Linked DNA regions of Homo sapiens: regions 1, 2, 3 and 4 are each linked to region 5. Evidence: promoter capture Hi-C in 16 types of primary human blood cells and fetal thymus (Javierre and others, 2016). All regions are on one chromosome and are shown on one strand. The core of a region is centred on a gene start or on the middle of the fragment in contact, and the rest is flanking DNA. Distances in the headings are between cores, read along the strand shown.

Region 1 (2,880 bases), core at 144-2,643, 560 kb before region 5:
CCAAACATCTAAAAGAGTAGAGATTGCAAATTTGAAAGATGACATGCACAAACTCATACACACACATACAAAGCCCATTAAAATTGTAATTCCACAATACTGTTGCTGCAACAAGGCTAAAGTAGCTATTTTCTTTCTTCAAAGTAAGTCCATTTAAAAGTGATCCAGAGACATATCAAGAAGTGTAAAGGTGGTATGAAAATGATTGGATTTTGAAAAAAGGTATAAATGTCAAGTAAGAATTTTACATACCAAATCTGTTTAGATAAAAAAATTAATCAAATTGGTTGTTTGACTACGAGCATAAGAAGGAGTATTCAGAATTCTTTCTCCTAATTAGTTACACTGGACAGCTTAAAAAATAGGGGCCTCAAACAGACAAAAGGGGAAAATAATGGTTCCTCTTCTTCCACCCACACAGCTTTCTCATTTGTAGCTTCAGGTACATCTAATCTTTTCCTTTTCCTTCTTGTTAAGGCACTATCAGGATTAGCTTGAATGAGCAGACGGCCTCAGTTAACTTAAAAGCGGAGCATCTGCAGGCCCCTGCTGAATTATACAGTCAGCAGGACAGAGGTTAATTAGGAGCCGACCAGCAGAGTCACAGTTCAGATGGACCTGAAGCTTCCAGTCAACTGCTGATAATAGCATAATTTCCAAGTTTAAGAGCAATACTTCCAGGGAAGGCTTGTGATCGCTTTTCGGGGCCAGTTATTACCTAGACCATTTATGTATATAAACTCAAAGCATTGTTTTGTTTTGTTTTCATCTCTTTTGTTTCAAAGTGTTGCTCCTAAAGTTGTTTTAAGATTTATAAATTTGTCAGATCAGGCTGTGATAGAAATAGTTGTTATTTCAGCCCTAGACATCTTAGGGCTGCCTCGTGCACGATTTCCCCATGACATAGATTTAACATTTGTATTTCACACTGCTGATGTGTTTCTTCTTAGTCAATCTTGCCCCCTCTTCCTGCCCTTCTGAGAGAGGATCAAGTTTCAGGGAAATGGACACACTCAGCACAATCCCCCCACCTCCTGCATTAAAAGAAAAAAAGATTTTTCTGAAAACCAAGCTTAAGCAAACATCAGGAACTTACTTCTCCCCCAACCTTCCATTTAATGCCAACTGTCCTTATTCACTTTTATCTTGCTTAACCAGTTTTGCCAGTGAACTTCTAAGTGACAGCATTCACCAACATGAGTTTTCTCTTTCTTGCCTCTTGTTGCCTTTGTTAGAACAGCTTAAGAATTAGGCACAATAAGGACACAGAATGGAGAAATCAAAGAAACAATGGGTCTGGAAATTTCTTGAGAAGAAAGGATTGACCACAATTATCATGAGATATACTTGTGGTAATAATCTATCACATGTAGGATGCATCCTATGGGCTGCCTCAGATTCTCCTGGCTTCACCTGTCCCCTGGGCCAGCAGCTGAGAGGAAGGATTCTATGTAGAACCTCATGGTTCCCCCTGTGTTGTCTTCAGCTCTTCCCTCACTTCTGATCTCATAAAAGGCCACTTCTTATGGTACAGGGTCTGCTTCCCCCAGAGGTCTGCTGCCAAAAGGGGCCAGGTGACCAACCCAGAACTACAAGAGGATTAACTTCCATGGGGTTCATTTTGGTAAATGGGAATGAGGAGACAAGAGGGAATCGGCAGGCTTTCTCTCCATTTGTCCCTCTGATGCATTGTTCTGAGGTATGGTTTTCCATACAAGCTTGTCCAGAGACATCCTGCACCTATCAAACAACTGGCTTTGTCACTTTGTGCCTTATTGTGACACAGTGGCCAAAGCCATCACTCACACATCCTTGCATTGGCTTCTTGTTTCCATTCTTTACTTCCCTTCCTCTCTGATATGGTCACACTTTGTGTCCCCACCCAAATCTTTTCTTGAATTGTAATCCCCAGGTATTGAGGGAGGGACCTGGTGGGAGGTGGTTGGATCATAGGAGCAGTTTCCCCCATGCTGTTCTTGTGATAGGGAGTGAGTTCTCATAACAGCTGATGGTTTTATAAGGGGCTCTTCTCCCTTTGCTCACTCTCTCTCCTGTTGCCACGTAAGACAGCCCTGCTTCCTCTTCCACCATGATTGTAAGTTTCCTGAGGCCTCCCCAGCCACACAGAACTGTGAGTCAGTTAAATCTCTTTTGAGTCAATTAAACCTCTTTTCTTTGTCAATTACCCAGTCTCAGGCAGTTCTTTATAGCAGTGTGAAAAAAGACTAACACACTCTTACTCTTGCTTTCCTGTGATAATACTTCCTACAAAGCACTCAACTTTTGCTTAGGCTTGTCCCTCTCCTTCCCCCAGGGAATCCCTGTTAAAATATATCCTGAAATTTCCTAGACAATTCCAAGTCATAGTTCTTTTTATCTCTATAGATGTTTTTGTTTGCTGAAGTATGTAATACAAGCTTGTCCAACATATGGCCCATGGCCCAGGACAGCTTTGAATGTGGCCCAACACAAATTCATAAACTTTCTTAAAACATTAGGAGTTTTTTTTGTTTGCTTTTGTTTTTTAGCTCATTAGCTATTATTAGTGTATTTTATGTGTGGCCCAAGACAATTCTTTCAATATGGCTCAGGAAAGGCAAGAGATTGGATACCCCTGATGTAATCCCTTCTCCTCCCCACTTCCCTTAGAAAATCCCAGAAATGGGATGTAGAAGACAGTAGTGGTCCTTTAATTCAAATCTTAAATTTCTGTCTTTGCTGCCTTGAGTTTAATTCATTTCCATCCCCTGCTTTTGTGTTTTCTTTCTTCTCTGTCTGGCAAAATTAGACTTATCCTTCAAAGCCCAGGTAAATGTAATCTACTGAGTGAAGGCTTGCTTACCACATCTGCCCATGCCTCCCATGGGAGTCTGTGCCATC
Region 2 (2,717 bases), core at 129-2,628, 620 kb before region 5:
ACCATGCCTGGCCCCCATTGCCAATCTTGAAGGAAAAGAGGAACAGCACCTGCCGGTGTTGTGCACCCCAGAGAGGTGGGGCTAAAGGATGACTCACTCTTGGCCCCTGGTACTGAGGACTGCAGGTGTCTGCAATCCTGGAGGAGGCCAGTAGGGGCGTCCCACCTCACACTCCCATTTTATCCTCATCTGCTCCTACTTAACAGGTCCTCTGCCTGCTCCTGCTCACCCTACTGACCTGTCTCCCTCACACAGGGAGTCCCCAGAAGCAGAGAGAGGAGCGTCCTCTCAGAGGACTTGCCAGGAAGCTTTCTTCTGCCTGGAGTCCACCGTTTTCCCTCAATCTGGCTGCCCACCACCTTTCTTTCTCTGCTTCTCTCACTCTCATATTCCCGCAGATGGGAGATGACAGTGTAAGGGGGAGGTGAATGGGATTCTTTTGTTTCTCTGGTCCTTAAAGTCTATAGGGGAGAGTTTCAGAATAAGGATGTGACTGATCCTAATCACTTTTGAATTTTCTAGTCTCTTAGGCTTGTGGTTAAGACTGGGATCTGGGATGGGGAACCACATTTGTCAAGGACGTAATAGTTTTCTCCTCAGCTTTCTAGAAAGAATGAGGGATTTTAATGGAGCTAGAGCAAGAGCTCAGCAGAGCTAGGGAGAAACAAAGAATTATCTTGGCTAAGACTGAGGGTAGCTTCAGGAAGGGCTGAGGTACCTGGGCATGTAAGGCTGTGTCTGCCTGGAGAGGTCATCAGAGGGGCTCCTGTGGGAGGAGTCAGAGGGGGCCAGGTGTTGTTCCGTGCCTGAGCCTGCAGGTGTGGGAGTGGAGCCAGGAGCCTTTGGGCCTGAGGCTGCAAAGACGTTTCCTTCCTACTTCTTCTGGGGATTATGAGTCACTGAGTTGCAGATAGGGGATGACTCCAAAGGACTAGGGAGTCACTAATACAAGTGTCCTGTTAGGTTGGGATTTCCTTGAGGGCAGGGTTCATGGTGTCTTCCTTGTAACTTAGCCCCCAGAACAACACCTGATACTCAGTAGGTGCTGAAAGGATGGTTGCTGAGTGAATGAATGAATGAAGACAGTTGATATTTCTGTTAACTTTCTCTTTAAGCATGGTGGTAAAAGCACTCACCAGCTGGAACTTTTCTTTCTAGATTATGTGTGGGAGTAACTGCCAAGTAGAGTAATCCCCTTGTCCCCTCCTCATCTTCAGTGCCTTCTCCTCTTCCCCCAGACAATAGAAAGGTAACTTGGGACTAGGTTTGGGGCCCAAGCCAGCTTTCTGAGCTCCCAGTTCCAAACACGTGTCTATTCCCTGGTGCCCTGGAACACCTGTGCCTGAGAAAAGCCCATGGGAGAACCGTGAGTCTGACTTTTCTTTTTATTCAGCTCTCAAGTCCAAGGCTGTAAAACCTGGGCCAGAGCTCTAGACAGGGGTGTGCCCTTGGTGCTTTGGGATCCAGCAAGGAGAGCCTTCCAGACCACAGGCTTTGTCCAAAATCAATCACTCTTTATCTGGGGCACAATTGTGAATAGCCATCCCCATGCCAAAACTGGAGATTGCCAGGGCTTAAAAGGCCAATTAACATAACCCCAGGAGTTCTGAGTGCATTGCCATAAAAACCAACGGCCCTGCTGCCTACTCCAATTCAGAGGCATCTTGACTCACAGGGCGCATGACTCAGACTGCTCCAGGCAGATTTTAATAGGTTCTAGGAACATCTCCTCTCACTACTGTCTGAGGACAGGAGGCTCTGCTCAGGTGATAATTGCCTTGAACTCGAGTCTACTGAAAACTGGCAAGAAAATGCTGTTGTAGCCAGGGAGTTTTTAGTGCTTGAGAAGGCCAAAAGCAAAGCCAGGGATCATAGAGACACAGTAAAACCTGGTTTAACCACTGGGCTGGGAAATTGCATGGTCTCAGGAGACCACAGAGACTCCGCAGTCTTCCATGAAAAGTCCAGACGTACTTAGTAGGCAGGAAACCATAGACGGGATTTAGTGTGATAGTTCCAAGTGGGACCTATAGTCTCAGACTTCTGGCTGCACCATCATAGGGAAGCTCCTAGCTTCTATGAGCCTCAGTTTACTCATCTTTAAAATGGAAGTAATCGTAGGTTGTTGGGAGGGTTAAACAAAAACAGCATAGTGTCTGGTAGGCAATAAATGTCTGATACATTAACTTTCTTCCTCTGCACTCAGTAGGGAGCCAAGATGAAGTCAAAGGTTGGTCAGGACACTCTTCCTGGACATTTATATTAGATAAAATATTGTCCTCTCTTCCCACCACTGACATCGAATCTAACAAAGAAAGAGAAATAAAATATATAAACTGCAATTGGAGGGTTGATTCTTTTATTGATGAGTAGCAAATTCTCTGCAGAACCCACAATACTTAAGCAGTACTCCAGGGCCACATGAAGATACTGTTGGTGACTACTCAACAAGCTTGCATTAAGCGCCTATGAAAAACAACCATATGGCTTAGACCTGCCCTCGGGAAGTTCACAGTCTAGGTGGGAAGACACATTCAAACACATAATGTGGCTCTAGGGCAAAGGCTTGAATGCAGTCATGGTTAGTTAAACAAGCCTGTCTCAGAATCATCTGGCAAACTTGTTAAAACACAAGTCCTAGACTCCATCCCCACTGATACTGGGTCAGGGATCATGCCCATGATCTTACATTTCTAGCAAACTCCAGTGATGCTGTT
Region 3 (2,796 bases), core at 80-2,579, 520 kb before region 5:
CCCCCACCCTGTCAATATTATCTATAGATAGATGCATTATTTTTCCAATGTATGCACATGGAAGCATGATGATATCAAGAATGATAAAGGATCTGAGATTTTACCCAACTTGCAAAATGATAATTTAGCCTGCCACAGTTTCATGGATGCTGCCCGAGGACATGAGACTCCTGGTTCAGAGACAAAAGACATTTTGTTACTTCTATAAATAGCTATAGCTTGAGTATCATTTTCCTGCGTCAGTTCCCTAAGCCCTAAGTCCCACAGGGGTGAGGTAATGAGGGCCAGGTGACACGTGCACATGCAGTAAATTGTTTTTCAGGAGAGGAATTGTCAAGATTCCTCTTGAAGGAAGGAAACTTGAGTCCTCATAGTGGTCTACAAACAAATCTGCACCTTGCTCCAGAGGGAACACTGTATCTTCAGGGCTTGATTGTTATACCATCACTCTTGAAATAGTCCCTAAAAAAAGTTGCCAATTCTTTTACCTACAAGATGTTCAGGAACACAACAGACCAATGATGGTCTCTCAACAGATTTTATATATATATATATATATATATATATATATATATATATATATATATATATATATATATATATATATATATATGGATTCACTGACTACATAGAAATTTTTCATAAGTCTAATTTTTCCATCAGTGAATATAGAAAAGTACAACTGCTAACTTTTATTTCCATCCATGATATTCTTAGAAACTTATGTCACCCTGTGAGGTGGGCAAGTGTATTGGGCACACTAGTGACTGCTTTGTAAGGCTTGCCATACCCAACATCCCCTTTTAAGCTGAAACTGACTCATCCTTAGCCCCTGCCTTTGATAAGCAGTGTCCTGATCCATAACGACCAACAAGAAACTCTTTCTAGAAACATTGGCAATTAGCCAAGAGAAATCAACTAAGACCCCCTACAAAATTGGGGCTACCAAGTGCTCAAGAAATAGGCTGGGGAGAAGTGAAAGGAGAAAGATGCAGATACTCAAAAGGCTTTTATGAGGAAGGCCGTGTAGTACATGTGAAAGAAATGAAGGGAGTAGCAAGTCCGTGGAGCTACTGCAGACACCCACAGATCTCTTGCTTCAGATCCAGTAAAGAATGTCTTCTCAGCAACTTCCCCGTTTACTTTCTTTCCTTTTAAAAACAATTTATTATAAACAATTTTTATTATAGTTTATGTACAGAAAAGTGTAAAAATCACTTTCACAGATGGAACTCACCCCTGTATCCAGCACCCAACCCTCCAGAATCCTCTATCCTATTCCTTTCCTTTTTGCTAACTCCCACCTTTCAGGTCACTATCCTGTCTCCAGCAACATAGATATGTTTTGCCTATTAGCACGTACTCTTCGGTTACTAGATTTCTCTGTCTCAATATTAAGTTTGTGGGATGCATTCACATTGTCGCATGTAGCCTTGGATTATTTGTTCTAATTGCTGTGTAGCATTCCATTTATGAACATGCCACAGTTTATTCTTTATCCATTCTACTACTGGATGGTCATTTGGATACTCTTCAACTGGGGGTTATTGATAGTGTTGCTATGAGTATTGTAGTACACGTCTTCTGATAAACATGTGAGTGAGTATCTGTTGAAGTCCATCCATACAGGTGGAATGGCTGGGTCATGTGGTATGCGTATCTTCAGCTTTTACAGATGCTGCCAAAACTATTTTCAAAGTGATTGTAGCAATTTGCGCTCCGCAGAAGTGTATGAGAGTTCTGGCAGTTCCACATCCTTGTCAACACTTGATGTTTTCCATCTTTTTTATATTAGCCATCCTAGCAGCTATAAACAGCTATTAGTGAGTGTTAAACTCAGTATGCTTTAAATGTGAAACCGTTTTATCTTTCTAGCCCCTGCTCTCAACCACGCTGTCAAATCCTATTTTCCCATCACTTAATAATATGGTGGGGGAAAAAAATCTCAATTTTTGGGTTTTTCCATTATTAAAGTGTATTTGGGCTCAGTTTATAATATCAGTCTCTGATTCAGGGCTCATTCCCTCTTCCAGTCCAGACTAGACCTGTGGCTTTAAGAGCCTTAGAATGGAGAGGCACCCATTTACAGACCACCCTCTTCTCCCTTGTCTGGTTCTAGTTCTAGTTTGGGGGCAGGGAAGGAGTTTTTTTGAAAAGTCTTGCTAATTAGTTGTGTAAGGTCACAGTCATCTCCGGTTGGTGTGGCTGTTTCTCTGGCTACAACTGGTGTGGTATAATGGGGAATATTTCTTTTCTTTGTCCCCAGTTCCTGGCAGTTTCACAAATCCTTGGAATTTCCTGAGTGATAGGATATCTGTTATGCTAATGAGGTGACACTGATGGATCCCTAGATAGCTTTGGGATAAGAGATCTGGTCACCAGAGAGACCAACCGCATGGCTACGGAAATGGAACTTTAGACCACCTGACCTCCAGGGAAGGTGAGAGGAGCTAGAGATTGAGTTAAATCACTTGGCCAATGACTTAAGCAATTATGTCTAGTAATGAAACTCCAATAAGAAATCTGGACACCGATGCATAGTGGAGCTTCCTAATTGGTAAACACACATTAATGTGCCCAACATAAATAGGTATAGCTAGGGTATCATCATGTGCCTGGAGGGTGATATGTCCTGACTATACTTTCTCTCAGAATTTACCCTGTGTGTATCCTTTCTAATAAGACTGTAATGGTAAGTACGACCCTTTAGTTCTGTGAGACATTCTAGTAAGTTATCAAACCTGAGAGTGTTGTGAGAACCTAATATGTAACTAGTTGATAAAAAATGTGAGTGGC
Region 4 (2,700 bases), core at 55-2,554, 600 kb before region 5:
AAAAGACCACAGAATATATGATTCCTATATCATGAAATATCTAGCATAGGCAAATCCATACAGAAATCGATTAATGGTCACCAGGGGTTGGGGGAAGGAAGGAGCTAAAGAGTAAGTGGTATTGGGTGCAGGATTTCATTTCGGTGTGACGAAAATGTTCTGAATTCAGATAGTGGTGATGCTCCTACATCTATAAATATGCTAAACCCCACTGAATTTTATACTTTAAACGGATGAATTTATGATATGTGAATTCTATCTCGATAAAGCTCTTATTTTAAAAAATGCATGAGAGTACCTGTGCCTTCCACTCCCCTATTGACAGTGTATGTTCACACTTTTTCATCACCATTCTAATTACAACATCTTGCTTCATTCCTTCTAAAGGAGGACTAAGCAGGAAAGAAATAGATTGAACGGGCCAACCAGGTATTTTAGGATTTGGGCTGTCAACTTTATAGTCTAACAGCAATGGAAATGTCTAAGATGGAAACAATCAAAACAGTCAAGTTGTCAACAATTGCCAATGAATTCAGCAGCCTAAATGAAACAAGCAAGGAATGAGACTTAAGAATTTAAAAAAGGGATGAAGGACCCAGTTCTTCCAGCCTAAAGGATTTTGAAATCTCCGTTTGCTTAACCAAGGACATGAATGCCACAACTCCTGAATGCAGAACTTAATCCAGCAGCGTGCCTCCAGTAGAAAATAAGCTGAAGTTCAATGTATTCTCTATGAAGAAGGTATGGGAGCTGAGTAAAACATTTTTGTACACCATTCTAGAGCTACTGATAGGCTGAAAAAATTAACCATTGCTTGCCCCTCTTAAAACTCATATTTTCATTGAGATGGGTTTCCTTTGGATTCCATTTCGCCCCTTTTCACCTCTCACCTCCAAGATTAACCCTGCTAAATACTTCTTTTTCTATGATGTCTTATATTTCAAACTGCTTGTGCCTTGTGGGATTAAAAGCTAAATACTCTTTAACAAGAGTAATCCCCTAAGTGGACATGTTTCTGAGATTGTTAGGCATTTGATCACAAGTGAAAGATGAGAATGCAGCGGGAAGGTATGAAAGCACAGAGAGTAGAGAGGTTCAGGATTTTCACCTTAGTAATAATTGATTGCAAAGGGGCTCTCCAAGCCAATATTTGCATGAAAATAGGCCCATTCTTAATTCTCAAGAATAAGCTCATTTTTCTCCCTTCCATTGAGAAGCAATATGACCCCAAGGAAATACATCCCAGCAAGTGAGGCCTTGACACACTTGACCTTTCCCAGTTTTTGACTCAGCTTATGTGGCTTTAATAATAACAGCTAGCACTTACAAATAATGCATTTAATATGTGGCAGCCACTGTTCTAGGCACTCTATATATACTGGCTCATTTAAGACCCAACAATCTTGTGAGGAAAACACTATTTGTCCTGCTGCTATGGACTGAATTGTGCCTCCCCACCCCTGCAGAAATCATATGTTGATGCCTTAACCCCCAGTGTAGTGGTATTTGTGGATGGGCCTTTGGGGAGGCAACTGGGTTTAGATAAAGCCATGAGGGTGGGGTCCTCATAATGGGATTAGGGCCCCCCTAAGAAGCGGCTCCAGACAACTTGCTTCCCTCTCCTGTCACTGCCATGTGAGGACACAGGGAAAAGGCAGAAGAATTTCTGAAAGTCAGAAGAATTTCTCACCGGGGAACCAAGTTGGCTATCACCTTGATTTTGGACTTCCCAGTCTCCAGAACAGTGAGATATAATTATTCACTGTTTAAGGCACTCAGTCTATGGTATATTGTTGTGGTAGCCCAAGCTGACTAATGTAAACCAAAATTAAAATTCTAAGGCCCCTCAACCATCTGAATGAACCCTTCCTCCTGGCCAAGGACATTCCAAAATTAACCTGAAGAACAAGTTCAGGCTATGATGGGAAGGGGGAGCTGGACATGCCTCATTATACCCTCCTCCCTTTTGGAATTACTGGTAGAACGGACTCTAAGTTTGATAAGAAACATTTACAATTTATTCTCTCTGAAGTCTGCTACCTGGAGGCTTCATCTGTATGACAAAACCCTGGTCTCTATGACCTCTTATTGTACCCAGACATTCCTTTCTATTGATAATAACTCTTTCAACCAATTGCCAATTGGAAAATCTAATCTACCTATGACCTGGAAGCTCCCACTTCAAGTCATGCTGCCTTTCTGGACTGAACCAATGTACATCTTACATGTATGGATTGATGTCTCATATCTCCTTAAAATGTATAAAGCTGAGCTGTACCCCACCACCTTGGGCACATGTCAGGATCTCCTGAGGATGTGTCATGAGTGTGTCCTTAACCTTGGCAAAAATCAACTTTCTAAACTGATTCAGACCTGTCTCAGGTACTTTTGGTTTACATTAATATGAGTGCTACCTCATAGAGGAGCAAATCGAGACCCAGGGAGGCTATGTCATAGCTTACCTAGGGAGAACTAGAAGATGATGAAGGCAGGAGTCAAACTCACATAGTCTCACTCCAGAGTCTGTATTGCTCATTACTATGGTCAAATGCCTGCAATGAAGGCAATAGCTTGTGTATTCTGGCCTCCTCTTCTGCCATCCTGAAACTCCAAATTATGCCATCATGTGGACTCACAAAAGATTGTGTTCAGGCTTCCACTGTATGTCTCATGTGTTTTGGAGTTTGTGCCCTCTACTCA
Region 5 (2,700 bases), core at 100-2,599:
TACGTCTGCAAAGAAGACAGAGAAAGGGCTGCTATTACTGTGAACATCAAAAGGGCTTCAGTTACAGTAACTTCAGTTCACTTCATGCTCCTAACTCAGGCTCTCTGCCTCCAATGCTTAGCGTCCCGCACCCTTCTCCAGGTTTTGAACCTGATCTCAATCCAATCAAAAGAGAAACTAAGCAGATTTTTTTCTGGGCATTTACATTACCGGTAACAATAGAACATTATAAAGATCTTGTTAACAAAAGTAGCTTCTTGCCAGAGTCTTTTTATTAACACTTGCAACGCTATTTAACAAGCTGGCCATGCCTGTGTGACACCAAACCGCATGTGGATAAATTCAGTGTTTCATCTCCAGGCCCACCAATTCCTATCCTTTGTAACTAATAATGTTAACACGACAGATCAAGAAACTAGTTTTTCAGAAAGCAGTTTTCATTCATTCTCTATAGACATTTCCGCCGCAGTGAACATGCCCGCACTCAGGGTGTCTGTGCATGGCCCCAACTTTCCTCCAAGCCGGGGAGGATGCAACGTGGGCCAACCATCCCGCGCGCTCGGCCCTGGAGGCTGCGGGGAGCGACGCAGCGCGACATTCACCCCCAGGAAAGCGCTGCTTTCCGCAGAGGAGAGAGGCTGACTGTATCCTTAGCTCGGCTCCTCGCTTCCCCAGCGGCTCGCCCCAGACATTGCACCGCGGAGGGGAGGCCGGTCGACCTCTCCGGCGATGCCCGGCTTCTGCCTGCTGTGGGAGGGCAGCGGCGGGCACCGTGATCTCCGCACCGAGAAGAGCTCCCCTTGCCCTCTAGTCGAAGCTCCCGAGTGCTCGGAGCACGCTCACCCCTCGCGAACACACCCCTGCAGCCGAAGCAGCCCCTGAAGCCCGCAGCGCCTGCAACAGGTCCGGGGCAGTGGGGGAAACTTACAGCAGTGGCGACTGGCCGCAACGCACAACTGAGTTCTAGCGACGGTCACGGGCAAGGAGGCGACGAACCGGTCGTCTCAGCCCAGGGAAGCGGTGGCGAATGCCCCGGAGAAAGGAGGGCCAGCCGGGGAGAGGACTGCGCCCCGAACGATGGCTCGCGGACCGGCTACCGATGGCGTTCGCCTCCGTCTGTCGTCCCCACGCCGCGGACCCGGTGTCCAGGACCCGCAGAGCGTCTCCGGAGCGCGTCACGGTAGGGCAGAGCAAGCCTGCCACTGCAGGCGCCGCGGAAGGAGGCGGGCTGTGCGCTCGGGGGAGGGAGCTAGAAAGCGCCTTGTGTGCCGGCGGCCGCCAGGCGTCTGGACCGGGTCTCCGCAGCGCCACCGCCGCACCGCCTCCTCTCCGGCTGCCAGAGCAGTCTGCGCCCCGCCGCCGTGCGCCCCGCTATAAGTGGCGCGGCGGGGAGGGGAGGGGGCGCGTATGCAAAGAGACCGACACCGGGGGAGGGAGGAAGCGCATTAGCGCGGCCTGTGGTGTAGGAGGAGGAAGAGGAGGAGAAGGAGTGGGAGGAGGAGAGGAGCTAGAGAAGAGCGTGTCGGGGGAGTTAATCGGGAGAGGAAGCGGGAGAGGGGGGCTGCGGGGAGTGCAGAGAGACAAAGCGGACGCACTGTCTCAGCCGCTGGCAGCTGCAACCCCGGGAACCGAGAATAAAATAAGTTTTCCCGGGTTCGAGTGTCTGCGCCTCTTTGGGCCAGCCTGGTTAATGGACAGCCCCGGATCTGAGGGACCCACCTTAGGGGAGCGCAGCCCGGGGCTGTGCGCTTGGTGATGCCAGAGCCCGCGAGATGCTCTAAAAAGGGCTGCAAGGGGCGAGCTGGGTATCCGCAGGACAGGCCCTGGGCACGCATAGACAGCGCCTTGGGTAGGACACCCAGAGTGGGGAGAGATAGTGGCAATGGACGGGCAAAAGTCTGGACAGTTTAGGGACACTCGGGTTGAGCAAGCCAGGACGTTTAAGTTTCTTGCTGGCAGAGAGCCAAAGAGACTCCAGCCCCAGGCATTTCCTATGTGTCCTCCCTCCCCACTCCCCAGTGGGTGCGGCACCCCCGGCTGGACTCTGCCCTAAGCCAGGCGACTGCAGGGGCAGCCGGGGCGCAGTCCTGCGGGGCGCGCACCACGTGCTTTTCAGCCAATCGCCGCGGCCGCTTGATTCAAAGTGAACTCCTCAAAGCAGCAGCCACGCCGCCTCCTCTCCTAGCGATTAAGCCTCCATCACCTTCTCCTGTTTTTTATCGCTCGGTGGTGTTAGTTTGGAGTTCAGTAAAGAAATGGCCCAGCACACACACACGTTTAATAGTCCCGCGTGTCAGGAGAAGGGAAGGCGATTCGAAAAATAATCTCGCGTGGTGATCACTTTTACGAATCCCATTTATCTTTGCAACTAGAGGCTTGTCTTTCCACTGGGAGTTAAAATATCTGTCTTTTATTCGGTATTTGGAGCTAAGTCTATAAATGAACGGGATAGATGACCGGTCCAGCCCCCTTGTTTTACAGGTGGGGAACCGAGGCCCAGGGAGATGTGAATTGCCTGGCTCGTAGTCACTTAGCAACAATGTCCCAGCTCTGCAGCTCGAGAGTGAGGGCCCCACGACAGAGTTTATTCCGTCCCCGGGTCCCCGCGTCCCCAAGCGCCCGCGCTTCGCCTCCCAGCTTGCTTTAAAACACTAGGCGCAGGAGCGATTTAAACTGGCTAAGGAGGCCCCACATGGCGCT

Evidence for each region. Contacts are between HindIII fragments. The CHiCAGO score rates a contact against its expected background, and 5 or more counts as called.
Region 1: a fragment that was not itself captured here is called in contact with the fragment with the promoter of ENC1 in region 5 in 1 of 17 cell types (endothelial precursors); the score reaches 6.2 in endothelial precursors.
Region 2: a fragment that was not itself captured here is called in contact with the fragment with the promoter of ENC1 in region 5 in 2 of 17 cell types (M0 macrophages and M2 macrophages); the score reaches 5.6 in M0 macrophages.
Region 3: a fragment that was not itself captured here is called in contact with the fragment with the promoter of ENC1 in region 5 in 1 of 17 cell types (endothelial precursors); the score reaches 6.5 in endothelial precursors.
Region 4: a fragment that was not itself captured here is called in contact with the fragment with the promoter of ENC1 in region 5 in 4 of 17 cell types (M0 macrophages, M2 macrophages, M1 macrophages and 1 more); the score reaches 9.1 in M0 macrophages.

The regions. Positions count from the first base shown.
Region 1 is chr5:74,075,151-74,078,030 of GRCh38, forward strand. The region is part of intron 2 of LINC02122 (long intergenic non-protein coding RNA 2122); the gene reads right to left. Among named protein-coding and RNA genes, the nearest start is that of LINC02122, 27 kb to the right of the region's middle. The HindIII fragment of the contact is 646 bases long and covers 1,071-1,716 here.
Region 2 is chr5:74,016,457-74,019,173 of GRCh38, forward strand. No RefSeq gene overlaps it. Among named protein-coding and RNA genes, the nearest start is that of LINC02122, 85 kb to the right of the region's middle. The HindIII fragment of the contact is 2,144 bases long and covers 307-2,450 here.
Region 3 is chr5:74,118,483-74,121,278 of GRCh38, forward strand. No RefSeq gene overlaps it. Among named protein-coding and RNA genes, the nearest start is that of LINC02122, 17 kb to the left of the region's middle. The HindIII fragment of the contact is 4,647 bases long and covers 1-2,796 here.
Region 4 is chr5:74,036,870-74,039,569 of GRCh38, forward strand. All of the region lies in intron 2 of LINC02122 (long intergenic non-protein coding RNA 2122), which reads right to left. Among named protein-coding and RNA genes, the nearest start is that of LINC02122, 65 kb to the right of the region's middle. The HindIII fragment of the contact is 9,651 bases long and covers 1-2,700 here.
Region 5 is chr5:74,639,379-74,642,078 of GRCh38, forward strand. ENC1 (ectodermal-neural cortex 1) reads right to left here and starts at 1,350. Exons shown (of 3, transcript NM_003633.4): 1 at 929-1,350. It also overlaps a transcript of HEXB not described here. RefSeq lists enhancers at 799-1,158, 1,620-2,335, 2,336-2,700 and a silencer at 1,199-1,458. The HindIII fragment of the contact is 20,564 bases long and covers 1-2,700 here.